2 separate regions of the Homo sapiens genome follow, and region 1 is linked to region 2. Evidence: promoter capture Hi-C in 16 types of primary human blood cells and fetal thymus (Javierre and others, 2016). All regions are on one chromosome and are shown on one strand. Each heading gives the region's core, a stretch centred on a gene start or on the middle of the fragment in contact. The rest is flanking DNA. Distances are from core to core; before and after follow the strand shown. Region 1 overlaps ABLIM3 (actin binding LIM protein family member 3). Region 2 holds the start of ABLIM3 (actin binding LIM protein family member 3).

Region 1 (7,332 bases), core at 2,827-5,326, 100 kb before region 2:
CGAACGAGTCATCCTTTTATTAAATTTTTAAATTTTTGAGACAGGGGCTCACTCTCACCCAGGCTAGAGTGCAGTGGTGTGATCATGGCTTGTTGCAGCCTCAAGTCCCCAGGCTCAAGGGATCCTCCTGCCTCAGGCTTGCATGTAGCTGGGACTACAGGCATACACTATCATGCCCAGATAATTTTTAAAAATTTTTTTGTAGAGAAGAAGTGCTATGTTGTCCAGGCTGGTCTCAATTTCCTGGGCTCAAGTGATCTTCCCAACTTGGCCTCCCAAAGTGCTGGGATTACGGGCGTGAGCCACTGTGCCCAGCACCAAAGAGTCATCTCTGAGCTTCTGTGAAGCTTTGCTCAGAATGGACATTGAATTAGTAAAGACATTGAATCAGAGTGGATCTTGATGGGGGGAAAAATTTCCCCCCATACTTGAAAGGAACAGCTTGGGTTGTATGATTGGGTGAGGTGGTATCTGAGGACCACTGAGACCCCTTACCAGGAGCCTTCCACCTCCCCACATCCTCTCTTTCTCCATCCTCCCAACCATTTTTTACCCTACAGCCAAAGTGGTCTCTCAAAAGCACAAATGTGATCATGCCACTACTTTCAATGTGATCATGCCACTCACTGTTTAGGATAACAACCAAAATCCTTACCTCAACCCTCAAAACCCTGGGGGACCTCCTCCCTCACCTCTACTGCTTCTCTTCCTCTCTGAGTTCAAGGTTAAGTGGACAGCCTTTTCTTTCCTCCAGTGGAATCCTCTCTCACATCCTGGGTCTTTGCAGAAGTATTTCTACACTCTCTGCTGTGTTACATCCTTGCCACCCTCCTGATGGCAGCTGAGTGGCTGCATTGAGAAACTTTTGTCATCTTCAGGCTGGACAGCAGGCCCCTGCCATCAGCTCTCCTACCTTCTGCGCATCACCTCCCTCTCATGGCTGGGGCCTATGTCTTCTCCACAAGGGCAGGGACCTGGTCTGTTTTGCTCCCCAGTGTATTGCTAGGGTCCATGGCCAGTGTTTAGTACATATTTGTTGAATGAATAAACACCCTTAGTTATAAACCCTCTAAGCACTCTTATTCAGAATGATTGTATAAAGGAGTGGGCAACTGTTCTGAACACCCGTGTCCTTGGCACAGGTGTTAGGGCCCTGGACCCAGGCTCCTATGGGGGTACTACCTTTGGGGGACCCATGGTAGGTCCAGTACTCAGACTCCGAAGCATAGTAGGGGTCTGGCGAGTAGATGGGACTGTACTTGGAGGTCTGGCTGATGTCTTCACTTGTTTTGCTCTTGGTTGCTGTAGACAAATCACCTGCAGAGGACCCAAGGAGAGCACTTCAGGAAGGCAGAGTGACCGGGATGGGACTGTGTACCCTTTTCCTATCTTTACCAGGCTCCAGCCCAGGGGAGTGAGTCCACTTCAAGATCAGGGCTCTCTGTTAGAACTGGGCCATGGAGCATCGGAGCTGGAAAAGCACTGGGGCCAAACCCTCATTTTGCATTTAGTAATTGGAGCACCAGAGAGGGGAAGGGGCTTGCTTAAGACCACATAGCATGTGAGCACCAGAACTGGACCAGATCCCAGCCCAGGGCTCTTTCCAGCACATTCCATGGATTCCCAGGTCTGTTCCAGAATGACCTCTAAGGGTGTGGCTCCTCAAATAAGACTGGACAGGTCCCAGGTGAGCCCCAGCCCTTTAGAAGCCTTCCTAGCCCTTTAGAAGCCTTCCTTGTTATAAATTTGAACTCCATCATTTCTCACAACCTGAGATGCCACATTCTGCTCAGGGACTACATAGCCTGAAGGAAGGAGTGCTAGACAGGGAGTCAGCAAACCTGGGTTCTGGTCCCAGCTCTGCCACTTTACTCAGCTGTAACACTGGGCAGGTCCTACCATCTCTGCCTTAGTTTCCTCATCTGTAAGTGTCAGAATCGGTCTGCTGGCTCAGCTGCCATCCAGCTTCAAGCTTCCACCTGAAGTAAGCCCAGGACAGGGGTGACCAAAAAGACCCACTGCAGTCACAACTACTTACAGAGCAGTGACTTCTCGTGGCCCAAACGTGGGTGACAGGCTGGTAGAGCAGAGAGAGGGGCTGGGGAAGTGTGTGTGGCTGCATGACCATTTCTCATGGTCAGCTACAGGAAGCTTTAGGGACAAGCTCTGTGCTCTGTGGAGCCAGAGTGGCAGAGCGTGGTGGATCAGCTTCAGCCAGCCCTGGGCTATGCAGCCCCCACAACAGCACTTGCTTCCAAAGCTTTCAAATTCTTCTCTTTGACTTGGGTCCTGGGCAGCCCCTCCTGGCTGACTGCATTTAGCTTTTTCCTCCGCCCTCTTTTCCAAGCAACCCACCTCCACCCCAGACTCCTCTTGAGTCTGCTTTAGTGCCACCCCTCAGGGCCCACCTGGAAAATCCCACAAAGTCCTGAGAAGCTTGTGACCTGGGGGCCTTTTCTAGGTATAAAGCCAAACTACCTTTGTCATGTTGGTGTCTTTCTATGAGTACTCAGGGGACATGGCATGTCCTTCACAAGCTGGTACAGACTTGCACATGCTCACAGACTCACCTCGGACCCCCCTGCTCAGCCCCCTCTGGAACCAAGGATGTCTGTATAAAATGTAGAATCTTAGGCACCCAGAGCCGCTGTTTAAACTCGTATTGTCCCCTCCACCAGCTAATTAGTTCAGAACCTGGTGCAGGACTGCTTCGCTCATCTCCAAGCTCCACCGATTCTGGGCCTCCTTTTGTTATCCAGCTAGACCCTTAAGCAAGTGTGGGTGCACAGGGTGGCAGCTGCTCCTCTGCAGCTTCAATGGAAGGGATGTGCTCCTTCAATCGAGGCTTAGTAAGTACTTTTTGCAAAAGTGAACAGGTGGTGTCAGTGATGAATGACTTGGTGGTTCTCATACTAAGTGCAGGGAGGAATCATGGACAAAGCCAGTTATAGTGCAGATTCTTAGTTCACACTCTCAATATTTATAATTAAGGGAGTCTGGGGCAAGGAAGGGGCCAGGGAATCTGCCTTTTAAATGTCTCTCAGGTGCAGATGGTCCATAGATCATTCTTTAAGAAACACTAAATCAATGAATGAATGAAAGAAGGAAGTCACCCTCTGCAACCTTACTCATCTACATCTCCTCTGCAAGTCTCCATCCACTCTCAGGAGACTGTGACTGAGAACAACTTACAGCAGGGGTTCCCAAGTTGGGCTGAGTATCAGAATCACTTGGAGAAACCGTGACACATACAGAATTCGAATTCAGTAAGCCTGGGGTGGGGCCCAGGAATCTGTATGCATCCCCTGTTATTCTAATGAACATTTCAAGTATTAATGCCTTGGAGTGTGACTCTCCCAGGGGCATGTGCGTTTTACAAAGGTTTTACCAATTATGGAACTTAGGATGACAGAGAGCAGGTAAGGGGGAGATTGCAAAGGTGGTGGGAAAGAACTGAGGGGACATGAGGACTTTGTTCTTTTGAAATGATACCAAACTCTGCCCTAATGTCACCCTGGGTGATGGGGCAGTCAACAAGAAGGACCAAGATGCAGCCTTGTGTTTTGTGGCTCCTGGTGGCCTGTGCAGGGCCATCTGCATAGATGGTTAACCTCCCCCCTCTCCTTGTGTGGCCAAGCCCTATCTACCTCTGACCATACCATGCCGTTTGTAGATCGGGGGTTTCCGGTAGATGTTACTGTCTCCAGCTGCCAGACAGACCAGGAAGGGACAGTGGGGAGGGGAGAGAGAGAGACAGGAGAAAAGGGAGAAAAGGAGATAGTACTTGGTCAGTTGATCTCAGAAGAGAGAGATGGGCAACAACTTTTTCCAAGGGGCCACCATCTTTTTCCCCTGGTGACTTCCTCTTCCAAAGTTGAACTTTCAACCTCGTCCCAACAGGTTCCAAGTAAGGTGCGGGAAGAGGAATGGATGGATCCAAGTGGTGCCGAGGAAGAGACCTGGGGCTTGAAGGGTGAGCATGCAGGCACAGGGGTGTGTGTGCTCAGCAGAGCCCCATGCAGGAAGGTGTCCACTGCCTCCACCAGTGGCCACACCTCATTCCATGTGAAAATTCCCAGGATGCTGCAGCCGAATTTCAGCTTACCTCCCTCCCCCTCCCTCAAAGACAGACAGGATGGGACCCCTCTAGGGCAGCTGAGGAAGGTGTAGATGAAACAGCAGCATGAGCTCTTGAGGGGAACGTGAGTGGGGAGTGAAAAACTGAGCTTGGTGTCAGGAGACTGAGGTTCAGCCCTGGCTCTGCTGTGACTCAGAGGGAGACCTTGTCCAAACTACACCCACTCAGTCCTGTAGCCCCTGTCTTCCTCTCAATTCCTGTCATGACCTGCGGTCACATGACATGATAGTGCTCTTCCCTCTGCCTGGGATGTCTTTCCTTGGCTTCTTCATAGGCTGGCTCTTCATCTTTTTTTCTTTTTGAGACAGAGTCTCACTTTGTCACCCAGGCTGGAATGCAGTGGCACGATCTTGGCTCACTGCAACCTCCGCCTCCCAGGTTCAAGTAATTCTCCTGCCTCAGCCTCCTGAGTAGCTGGAATTACAGGTACAAGCCACCATGCCCAGCTAATTTTTATATTTTTAGTAGAGACAGCGTTTCACCATGTTGGACAGGTTGGTCTCGAACTCCTGATCTCATGACCCACACGCCTCGGCCTCCCAAAGTGCTGGGATTACAGGCGTGAGCGACCACGCCAGGCCCCTTCTCATCTTTCAGCTTTAATGTTACCTCCTCCAAGAAGCTCTTCCTGACCGCCCCATCTAGCCTGGCCTCTCTCAGCCTCATCATCTCTCAGGATGGCCTGTTTTATTTATGTTTATGGCACCTATGGCTACCTGAAATTATCCTCTACCTATTTGTTTACTCATTTTTATCTCTCTTCCTACATTAGTACGTAAATACCAAATACCATGAAGGCAGGATCTGGGCTGGGTTGAGCACAGTTGCAACCTCTGAGCCCAGAACAGTGCTTAGCTGTACAGAAGGAATAACAGTGGCTTGGGAAGCCAAGTAACTGGCTCACAGTCATGAGCTTATAAGCAGCTGCATCGGATTCCATCCCAAGAGCTTTGAAGCCAAAGTGTGTAGCCTTCACCGCTGTGTGCCCCTGCTGCGCCCCTCACAGCCCTCAAGCACTCACGGTATCTCACTCGAGCTCCCTGCCTCTTTTCTTCCCGGGACTGCTTCTTTGAGGTCCTAATGGAGGCTGGTTCTGTCAAGTGGATAATCTGAAGCCCGTGGGTGTGTTGGGGTTGGAGGACAGGGTTGGTGCAGGTGCTTGGTTAGGGAGGTCCCTCAGGAACCAGCTTCTTGGTGCCTGTGTGGCATCGAGGGGGTGACTCAGGCACCTGTGACCCCATGGAGCATGCATCCATCCCAGGAATTCTGGGCTGGCAGTGCCTACCTGGGATGTGAAAGTGCTTGGGAGCCTGGTAAGAGGTTGGAGTGGAGGACCTCACATCTAACTGGCTATGGTATGGAGAGCTCCGGCCACTCTCGGGCCCTGGAGCACGCAGGAAGTGGTCGCCAAAGAAAACAGAGGCACAGAGAAAACAGGCATTAACGCGGTGGCAGTTTAGGAAGTGGTGAGGTGATGACAGCAGAGATGGGGGATGGGCTGGGGCGTCTCAGCGTGCTCAGGTTCCGGGGCGGAAGCAGCATGTGCTCTCATGCACCACGTTGGCAGAAACAAGCTTGACTTTGCTTCCTGGCTTGATCCCAAAGTCAGATTTTGTGAGATGTAAAGATCAACTCTACTGAGCTCCAGGAAGGCATGTTAGTTTGAACCTCTTATCTCCCCAACCATCCTTGAACCTCCCCCTTTTGGACGCTCCCTTAATTGCTCCTTTCCTCCATCCAAGTGCTGGCATCACCCCCAACCTGAGGGTGACTGTGGATGGTCTGACTGGATTGGCTGGGGTGGCCCTTGGGTGAAGGCCAGTTCATAGCCATATTTCTGGTCTCTTGGTTCTGCCCTCCGGATGGGGCAGGCCACGAGGATGGTGGAGTCTTCTTCCACCAGGGCCACAGGGCCACCTGCCAGCCCCCTCTCCTGGAAGTTCACCACCCACCTTCCTGCTGCTTCTCAGTGCCACACACTCCTCCATCCCCCCTGCCATCTCAGGGACTCAGAGAGGCCCAGCTGGTCACCTGGGTGGCCATAGGCCTCCAGAGGGCCACACTGTGATGGAGATCATGGGGGAGCCTTGTGCCCTCTGCAGCAGGGACCCCAAGTGACTGCATTGTCTCCCTGGCTCTTCCTCTCCCTTCAGGTCCTCCCCCTTCCTTACCAGAGCGGTAGTAGTGGTGAGGTGAGCGGGAGAAGGTGGGGGACATGCCCTGCCGGCTGTAGGTGGGGGAGTCTATGTACCCCGGGCTGGAGGCCCGTCTCTGCCGGAGGTCCAGGTTCTCGTAGATGTCCTGGGAGAGGAAATGGGGCTGTGAGCATGGCTGGCTGTTAAGTGGGCCTGTGGCCCGAGGGTCTAGCAGGCAGGTGGGCATGACATGGAATCTGGGATTCTCGGGTTTGAGGTGTGAATACAGAGACCCCCCTCCTCCCTGAGTTACACACACAGCCCGAGGAAGATGGCAGAGAATTTCCAGGGCTTTCCCCCATTACTTGCAGGCCCTTGAATGGAATCTATGGGGTCAATCCCTGGAATCCTGACCAGGGATCCCAGAAGCCTGAGGGAGGCCATCTCTGGGCAGGAAGGGCAGATTTCCATCCTGTATGCCACTACCACTTCCTCCAGGACATGCACCCGAGTCTCTCCAGCACTTCCCTGCTTGCAGGGAATACCTTGGGCAAGGGCTCAGACACCTTCGGGGGGCTGGGGATGGGTGAAGTCCACATAAAGGGGCACAATTATATATCAACTTAATTCTCTATCAGCTGAATTACCTGGGAGTAGGGAGATAATGTTCCCAGCGACTTAGAAGTGAAGAGTTTGAAGGCAGTTGTGGAACGAGCAGAAGGAATGAGAGGAGGACGAGACGAAGGACAGAGCATGGTTAGATGGCTCGGCAGAGAGGGTTTGCAGCAGTTCCTTTGTACCCCTCTCCAGATAACAGCCTCGCTGGGAATTCCAGAGGGTCAGACTACTGACAGGAGGCAGGAAACCTCGAGATTATGCCCGCCTTTTAGGAAGGGAAAAACCAAGGCCCAGAGAGAGAATACGAAGGCTCACGGCCACTCAGGGCAGAAGTGGCAGGGACTTGACTTGGACCCAGGCTTCTGTGCTGCATGCTCAGGGCTATTGTCACCACCCTTTCCTTGTCTCTCTACTGGTTCATGACCCCTCTACAGTTCATGA
Region 2 (7,058 bases), core at 4,031-6,530:
AAAAAGAACAAAGCTGGAGGCATCACATTACCTGACTTCAAACTATATTATAAGGCTACAGTAACCAAAACAGCATGGTACTGCTACAAAAACAGACATATAGACCAATGGAACAGAATAGAGAACCCAGAAATAAAGCCACATACCTACAGCCATCTGATCTTTGACAAAGCTGACAAAATTAAGCAATGGAGTAAAGACTCCCTATTCAATAAATGGTGCTGGGACAGTTGGCTAACCACATGCAGAAAAATGAAACTGGACCCTTACCTTTCACCATATACAAAAATTAACTCAAGATGGATGAAAGATTTAACTGTAAGACCTCAAACTATAAGAATTCTAGAAGAAAACCTAGGAAACACCATTCTGGATATTGGCTTTGGGGAAGAACTTATGACTAAGTCCTTGCAAGCAATTGTAACAAAAACAAAAATCGACAACTGGGACCTAATTAAACTAAAGAGTTTCTGCACTGCAAAAGATACTATCAACAGAGTAAACAGACAACTTACAGAATGAGAGAAAATATTTGAAAGCTATGCATCTGACAAAGGACCAATATCCAGAATCTATAAGGAACTTAAACAATTCAACAAGCAAAACAAAAACAAACCCCACGCCCCCAAAAACCATTAAAAAGTGGGCAAAAGACATGAACAGACACTTTTCAAAAGAAGACATAGAAGTGGGCTGGGCACAGTGGCTCATGCCTATAATCCCAGAACTTTAGGAGGCTGAAGCATTTGAGACCAGAAGTTTGAGATCAGCCTGGGCAACATGGCAAAACCCCATATCTACCAAAATAAACATACAAAACTTAACTGGGCCTGGTGGCACCCACCTGCGGTCCTAGCTACTCAGGAGGCTGAGGTGGGAGGATCGCTTGAGCTTGGGAGGCTGAGCCTACAGTGTTCCATGTTTGTTACACTGAACATCAGCCTGGACAACAGAGCCAGACCTTATCTCAAAAAAAAAAAGACATACACGTGGCGAATAAATATGAAAAAATAAAAATGCTCAACATCACTAATAATCAGAGAAATGCAAATCCAAACCACAATGAGATACCATCTCACACCAGTCAGAATGGCAATTATTAAAAAGTCAAAAAACAACAGATGCTGGCAAGGCTGCAAAGAAAAAGGGATGCTTTTACATTGTTGATGGGAATGTAAATTAGTTCAGCCACTGTGGAAAGCAATTTGGAGAATTCTCAAAGAACTTAAAACAGAAATACCATTTGACCTAGCAATCCCATTACTGGATATATATCCAAAAGAAAATAAGTCATCCTGCCAAAAGGATACACACACTGATATGTTCATTGCAGCACTATTCACAATAATAAAGATACGGAATCAACCTAGGTGTTTATCAACAGTGTACTGGGTAAAGAAAATGTAGTACATTTATACCATGGAATACTATGCATCCATAAAAAAGGACAAAATCATGTCCTTTGCAGCAACATAGATGCAACTGTAAGGCATTATCCTAAGCAAATTAATTCAGGAACATAAAACCAAATACTGCATATTCTCACTTATAAGTGGGAGCTAAACATTAAGTACTCATGGACATAAAGATGGCAAAAATAGACACTGGGCACTACTAGAGGGGGAAGGGAGGGAGGAGAGCAAGAGTTGAAAAACTAACTATTGGGTACTATGCTCAGTACCTGGGTCATGGAATCAAGTGTATCTCAAAGCTCAGCATCATGCAATATACCCATGTAACAAAACCTGCACATGTACCTTCTGAATCTAAAATAAAAGTTGAAATTTAAAAAAATACAGTATTTGCAGAATTTGAAACCTGCCTACACTGAGGGCTGACTCTTTGTATAAGCAGGTTCCACAGGGCTGACTGCAGGACTTAGTATGCACAGTTTTACCAATCCCCATGTGTACAAAGGGATGATTGTAATCTCATGCTTTGCCTCTATTTCAGTGTTGACATTTGAATCATTGATTAGGAGTTGTACTCAGTGTCAAATGTGTTACACATCCAAGTACCTTTCATAACCCAACAATTAACTGCATGACTTGAAGAAGCCACTGAGCATTAACTACAACGTTTCTGAACACAGCTTCAAATTTTCACCCATAAAATGAGTAAAAACACCCATCTCACAGGTTGGGTGGGACAGTCTGGTGAGCTCAATCAGGGGAGTGCTTAGCATGGTGGCTGGTGGAGAATAAGGACTAAATAAATAGAAGTGAAAGAAAAACTAAGCAAGAGTTTCTATTAGGGACAATATCAGGCATGAGGATCAAGTTAAGAATTTCACATCTCAAAGGGGAGCTTTTTTGCTTAGTCAGGTGACCCAAGGACCTCCTGCCAATGCCCTATCCATATCACCCTATGGCTCTGTTACTCCTTTTCTTGTGAGGTCTGATGTCTACTCTCTGCATTTGCAGACTCGTGGGTTTGGGAGGTACCTCCATGATGATGGAGTTAAGCCCTCAAAGCTCTGTGCTTGCTGTGTCCCCCAGGTGTCTGTTTAGAGAAGCACTTCCTCCTGGGGGGAACCCGGAGGGCTTCCAAGGCTGCTGAGCCATTCTCCTCTGTTCATTTTCCATTACTGCAAAATTCACACACTCTCCCTGCTTATAAAAAGTAGTGGCATTTTTGCCAGTCCTCATATTCTGCAGTATCCAACTCTATTGATTCTTTTTTCTTTTCTTTCTTTCTTTTTCTTAAAAGAAGGATAGTCTGTTTCCTTCTTTCAGGAATACTCAGTGTTACTAATAGGACAAGAGTTCCTTAGCATTCCAGAGAGAGAAAAGGGCAGAGTCAGTTGCCTGTTTCTTTTCTTAGTTCCTTGAAAAATAGATGAGCCATCTTTCTTTTCTGTCACTTAGTGGGAAAGGACTCTCATAAATACATTTTTTTTTCCTAGAGATAGTGAGAAGTGACAGGCAACTCACATCTTTATTTGCCTGAAAACATGCAAATGCAAACATGTGACCCACTAGCTGATAGAGGCTACAGGATTTTCCTCTTTTCCTGAGCCTGGTATGAAGCCAAAACACCATTCCAGCCTGTCAAAATCAAAAGGCAAAATTCTTTGGCTGTAAGAGGCAGAGGGAGTCCAGCCACACTCGCTAGCTTAGCATAGATATGCAATACACAAAGGAAGACAGCAGAGAGATGAATCATACAAATACGTAGTAAATAAATATATTTTATTTTCATCTCAGTAGCTTTTGCTTTTTTTTTTCTCTTCCATGCTAGGAGGTGGGGGTGGGGTGGGGTGTGTGAGGAAATAGTAGGTTTTGGCTGGATACAGCTTCAATAAGGTCTTGATAGTTCTGGCCTTGTTGCTCAGCTCTAGCTTTTTAAGAAAAAAAGTGTAGATTCTTAGATTAGAAGGCTTTCTTTTATTATTATTATTATTATTTTTTGAGACAGAGTCTCACTCTGTCGCCCAGGCTGGAGTGCAGTGGTGTGATCTCGGCTCACTGCAACCTCTGCCTCCCAGGTTCAAGCAATTCTCCTGCCTCAGCCTCTTGAGTAGCTGGGATTACAGGCCCACACCACCACACCTGGCTAATTTTTGTGTTTTTAGTAGAGACGGGGTTTCATCATGTTGGTCAGGCTGGTCTCGAACTCCTGACCTCGTGATCCACCTGCCTCTGCCTCCCAAAGTGCTGGGATTACAGGCATGGAACACGGTGCCTGGCCGATTAGAAGGCTTTCTAATTCAACCCCTCTCATCATACAGATGAGCAGTCTGAGATGCAGAGAGGGGACTGATAACAAAGTCATAGACCCAGGGAAGTGACTGTTCATAGGGGTTCTCTGGTTCAACAGCCCTATGCGATGCTGGAATAACCTAGACAGGCCAAGCTGACAAGAGGGCAGGAGAGTGAGTCTGGAACCAAGATATGCCCTCCCAGGTCACAGCGCTACATTGAAGAGAAACAGACTGTGCCTTCTTGAATTTCGGACTGCATTCTCAGTAGCTGAGGCCCTACCTGGCAGCAAAATATCTGGTCCTGGCTCTGCAAGCAGTTGTTGCCTCTGGCATGTTAGAGCCCTTGGCCAAAGGGCTGTTCCTGTCTTCTTGTTCTCAAGGATAGCTAACCAGCCTGCAGGTACATAGAGAAACCAGCCCTGGGCCCACCGGGCTGCAGGCACTCGGGAGCTGGATCTTTCACAATCTCCAGACCCAAAGGTGGCTTGGCGATTATTTGTTTATCAAACTGCGGCTTCCCAGCCCACTGCCTGCCCACACCCACCTACCCTCCCGCCTGCCCACAGGCCAGCCTCCCTGCTCTTCCCACCTCTGGGACAGGCAGGGCCCTCCATGGTTTTCCAGATGTGTGCAGGGAGTTCTCCTCAGAGCCCCCACAGTCAGACAATGGCCACACACTGCTTCCTAGGCCTTCCCAGGCAGTGCTAGAAGGAGACGAGCAGCCTTCCCAGGAGAGGCGGCCGGCGCCGCTGATAAAATATTGGCAAAATTATCACGAAAAGCCAGAGTCATGAAGCTATCCCTCTGCCAAGGAGCACGGAAAGCACCAAAAAAGAGCCTGGGGGTCATGTGTCCAGAGATGCCAGGCTTCCTTCCTCTTTCCAGGCAGCCCGAGCGCAGGCTCCCTCACCTCCCGCCCCCACCCCTGTTCCCATGGCAAAGGAGAGGAGGATCCACTTACTGCTAGTGTTCATGGTGATGTCTTTGCACTGGGTCTTTCATTCAATACGGAGGCCCCGGCTGCTTTTTAAATCTTCCGTTCTTCGAACCTCACTCATCACCTGGGGGGTGAAAAGGCAGTCCAGTGCCAGCTCTGTATCCTCAGGTGCTCTCTCTCCCTCTGCTGTCCCCTCTCTGTCTGGGCTGTAGCCCCTGGCCTTGAAGGCGCGTGGACTAATAGGCGCAGGTGAGAGCAAGGAGAAGGAGGCGGCAGGACACCGGCGCCCCGGTCCTCCTGCTCCTCAGATTGGAATCCCGGGCAGAAGTGGGGTTGGCAGCGCCTGCTCGCGCGCACCCCGGACTATTCCTGCCCAGCGGCTCCGGAGCCCAAAGGGGGTGTGGACCACAGGGAGGCAGGGCGGGGGCAGCGCGTCCCCGCCCGGCTTCAAGGAGCAGCGACCCGCCCCGGAACCCACCTCTCGGCCAGTGTCGGGAGCCAGAGGCCCCTGCCCCGGCCCCTGCGACTGATTTCATGAATCCTGGTCCTCGTCTGGGGTCTCGAATTCCAGGGCTAGCAATGCGAAATAGGGGAGCTCGACATCCATGATGCGGGCTCGCGGGTTGGCAGCGCAGGGGGCGCGGCCGCTCGCTGCTGCCACCTGCTGGACGCACCGGCGCGTGTCCGAGGCCCCGCCCCGCCGGGCTTCTGCCTGGGCCCTAGGGTGTGATGGGAGATGGACGAGGCCTTGTGAGATGGACGAGGCCTTGTGTCCTGGGACCAACGAGGGAGTGCTTGAGCGCTTGTTTTCCCTCCCTCGATCCTGGGGTTCTAAGGGCTCGACAATGATAGGAAAAGAAACATCATTAGGAGGGGCCGTGAAGGAAAACCTGGCTTTGCAGGAAGACAGTTTCCACCCGGCTCTGCTCTGGCAAGCTTGGCGCAGTCTAGGCTCAAGCCGGTCACTACCGTCTCTGCCTCATCTTTCTCAACTATGAATATGGCGTCTGGACAAGTGGATAACACGTAAGGGGCTCTTCCAGCCTCCCAGCGTTTATGTCCCCTCTTCCCTCACAGATTCCCTTTATCCTCTATCGCTGATTCATCATTAGAATTGTTTATTACCTCTTTTCCCCACGAGAATGTTAGCTCCGTGAAAGAATGGGTCTGTCCGTAGGGTTCACCTACAGGCCCCCAATACCTAGCACAGGGCCCGGCATATAGTGGCTACCAATAAATATTTGTTGACAGAGCAACCCAGACATTTTCTGGGTTTAATATTACACAGCCCTAAGAGTAGACTGCCTAGGCGCCCCACCCTGAAACACTTCCCCGTCTGAGGAGAACAGCAGGTATGTGGCCTCACAGGTCCACCCTAGTTTTCATATGGTCAACTAACTCTTCCCCCAAGTTGTTGTTGTTTTTTTTTTTTTTTTTGTAATTATGTCTTATACGTGTGTATTGTAGAAGTTTATATTCCAAAGTGTTTTAGTCACAATTGATTCAGTGGGGTAGGGCTCTTTACATTCCTGTGACTACTTACTCTGTCACTTTCTGAACCTAATTCATGATCATAGAAGCATGACTTTTGAGTGCTGAAAAACAAGACTGTGAGGGCACATGATCCTTGTCTATAGCATGACTTCAATTAGAGCATGTGCAGACTCAAAAGGCTGTGAACACTCACAGCCCCAGCTTAGACAAGGAAACAGGGTGTCAGAGAGGCTGGGCAACGTGCCCTAAGACACACAGCATCTTGTGGCAGAATCGGACCAGATCTTCTCACTTCTAGCTTGATCCTGTGTGAGAGTGGCTCAGTGCACTAAAGTCTGGGATATCAGTGTGAGATTAGATAGCTGCCCTATTAAAATTGGGGAAAGACAAATACGATGTTTTTATACAATGCTTTTAGATAAATACAACGTTTCTACCTTACACAGGGAGGAAAAAAAGGATATGGCTCATGACCCCGAGAGGTGATCAGGATTAAAGAATCTTTGGATAAACCTAAGGATCAATAGATTTGAAACACATTTGATAGATTGTTAAGAATTTTGTCCACATGTTCTCACTCATAAGTGGGAGTTGAACAATAAGAGCACATGGACACAGGGAGGGGAACATCACACACTGGGGCTTGTTGTGGGATAGGGGACTGGGGGAGGGATAGCATTAGGAGAAATACCTAATGTAAATGATGAGTTGATGGGTGCAGCAAACCAACATGGCACATGTATACCTAGGTAACAAACCTGCACGTTGTGCACATGTACCCTAGAACTTAAAGTATAATAATAATTTTTTAAAAAAGAATTTTGTCCAATGGGGTGGAGGTAAAAATAGCCCTAATGTCCTCACGGTCGTTCTTAAAATTTTGTGTCGATAACAAACGCCTGAGATACCTCCAAAAATGCAGAT

The links. The method cuts DNA at HindIII sites, captures the fragments that hold promoters and counts their contacts. A CHiCAGO score of 5 or more calls a contact.
Region 1: a fragment that was not itself captured here is called in contact with the fragment with the promoter of ABLIM3 in region 2 in 2 of 17 cell types (naive CD4 T cells and naive CD8 T cells); the score reaches 7.2 in naive CD4 T cells.

The regions. Positions count from the first base shown.
Region 1 is chr5:149,238,866-149,246,197 of GRCh38, reverse strand. ABLIM3 (actin binding LIM protein family member 3) reads right to left here. Exons shown (of 24, transcript NM_014945.5): 12 at 6,921-6,950; 13 at 6,310-6,439; 14 at 5,424-5,522; 15 at 3,660-3,707; 16 at 1,183-1,317. Among named protein-coding and RNA genes, the nearest start is that of AFAP1L1, 29 kb to the left of the region's middle. The HindIII fragment of the contact is 3,276 bases long and covers 2,439-5,714 here.
Region 2 is chr5:149,139,715-149,146,772 of GRCh38, reverse strand. It overlaps ABLIM3 (actin binding LIM protein family member 3), which reads right to left and starts at 5,280. Exons shown (of 24, transcript NM_014945.5): 1 at 5,119-5,280; 2 at 4,665-4,764. The coding sequence starts at 4,677. LOC124901102 (a long non-coding RNA gene) reads right to left here and starts at 4,657. Exons shown (of 2, transcript XR_007058988.1): 1 at 3,984-4,657; 2 at 3,175-3,340. RefSeq lists enhancers at 612-781, 3,858-4,357, 4,358-4,859 and a silencer at 5,165-5,414. The HindIII fragment of the contact is 6,101 bases long and covers 1-5,578 here.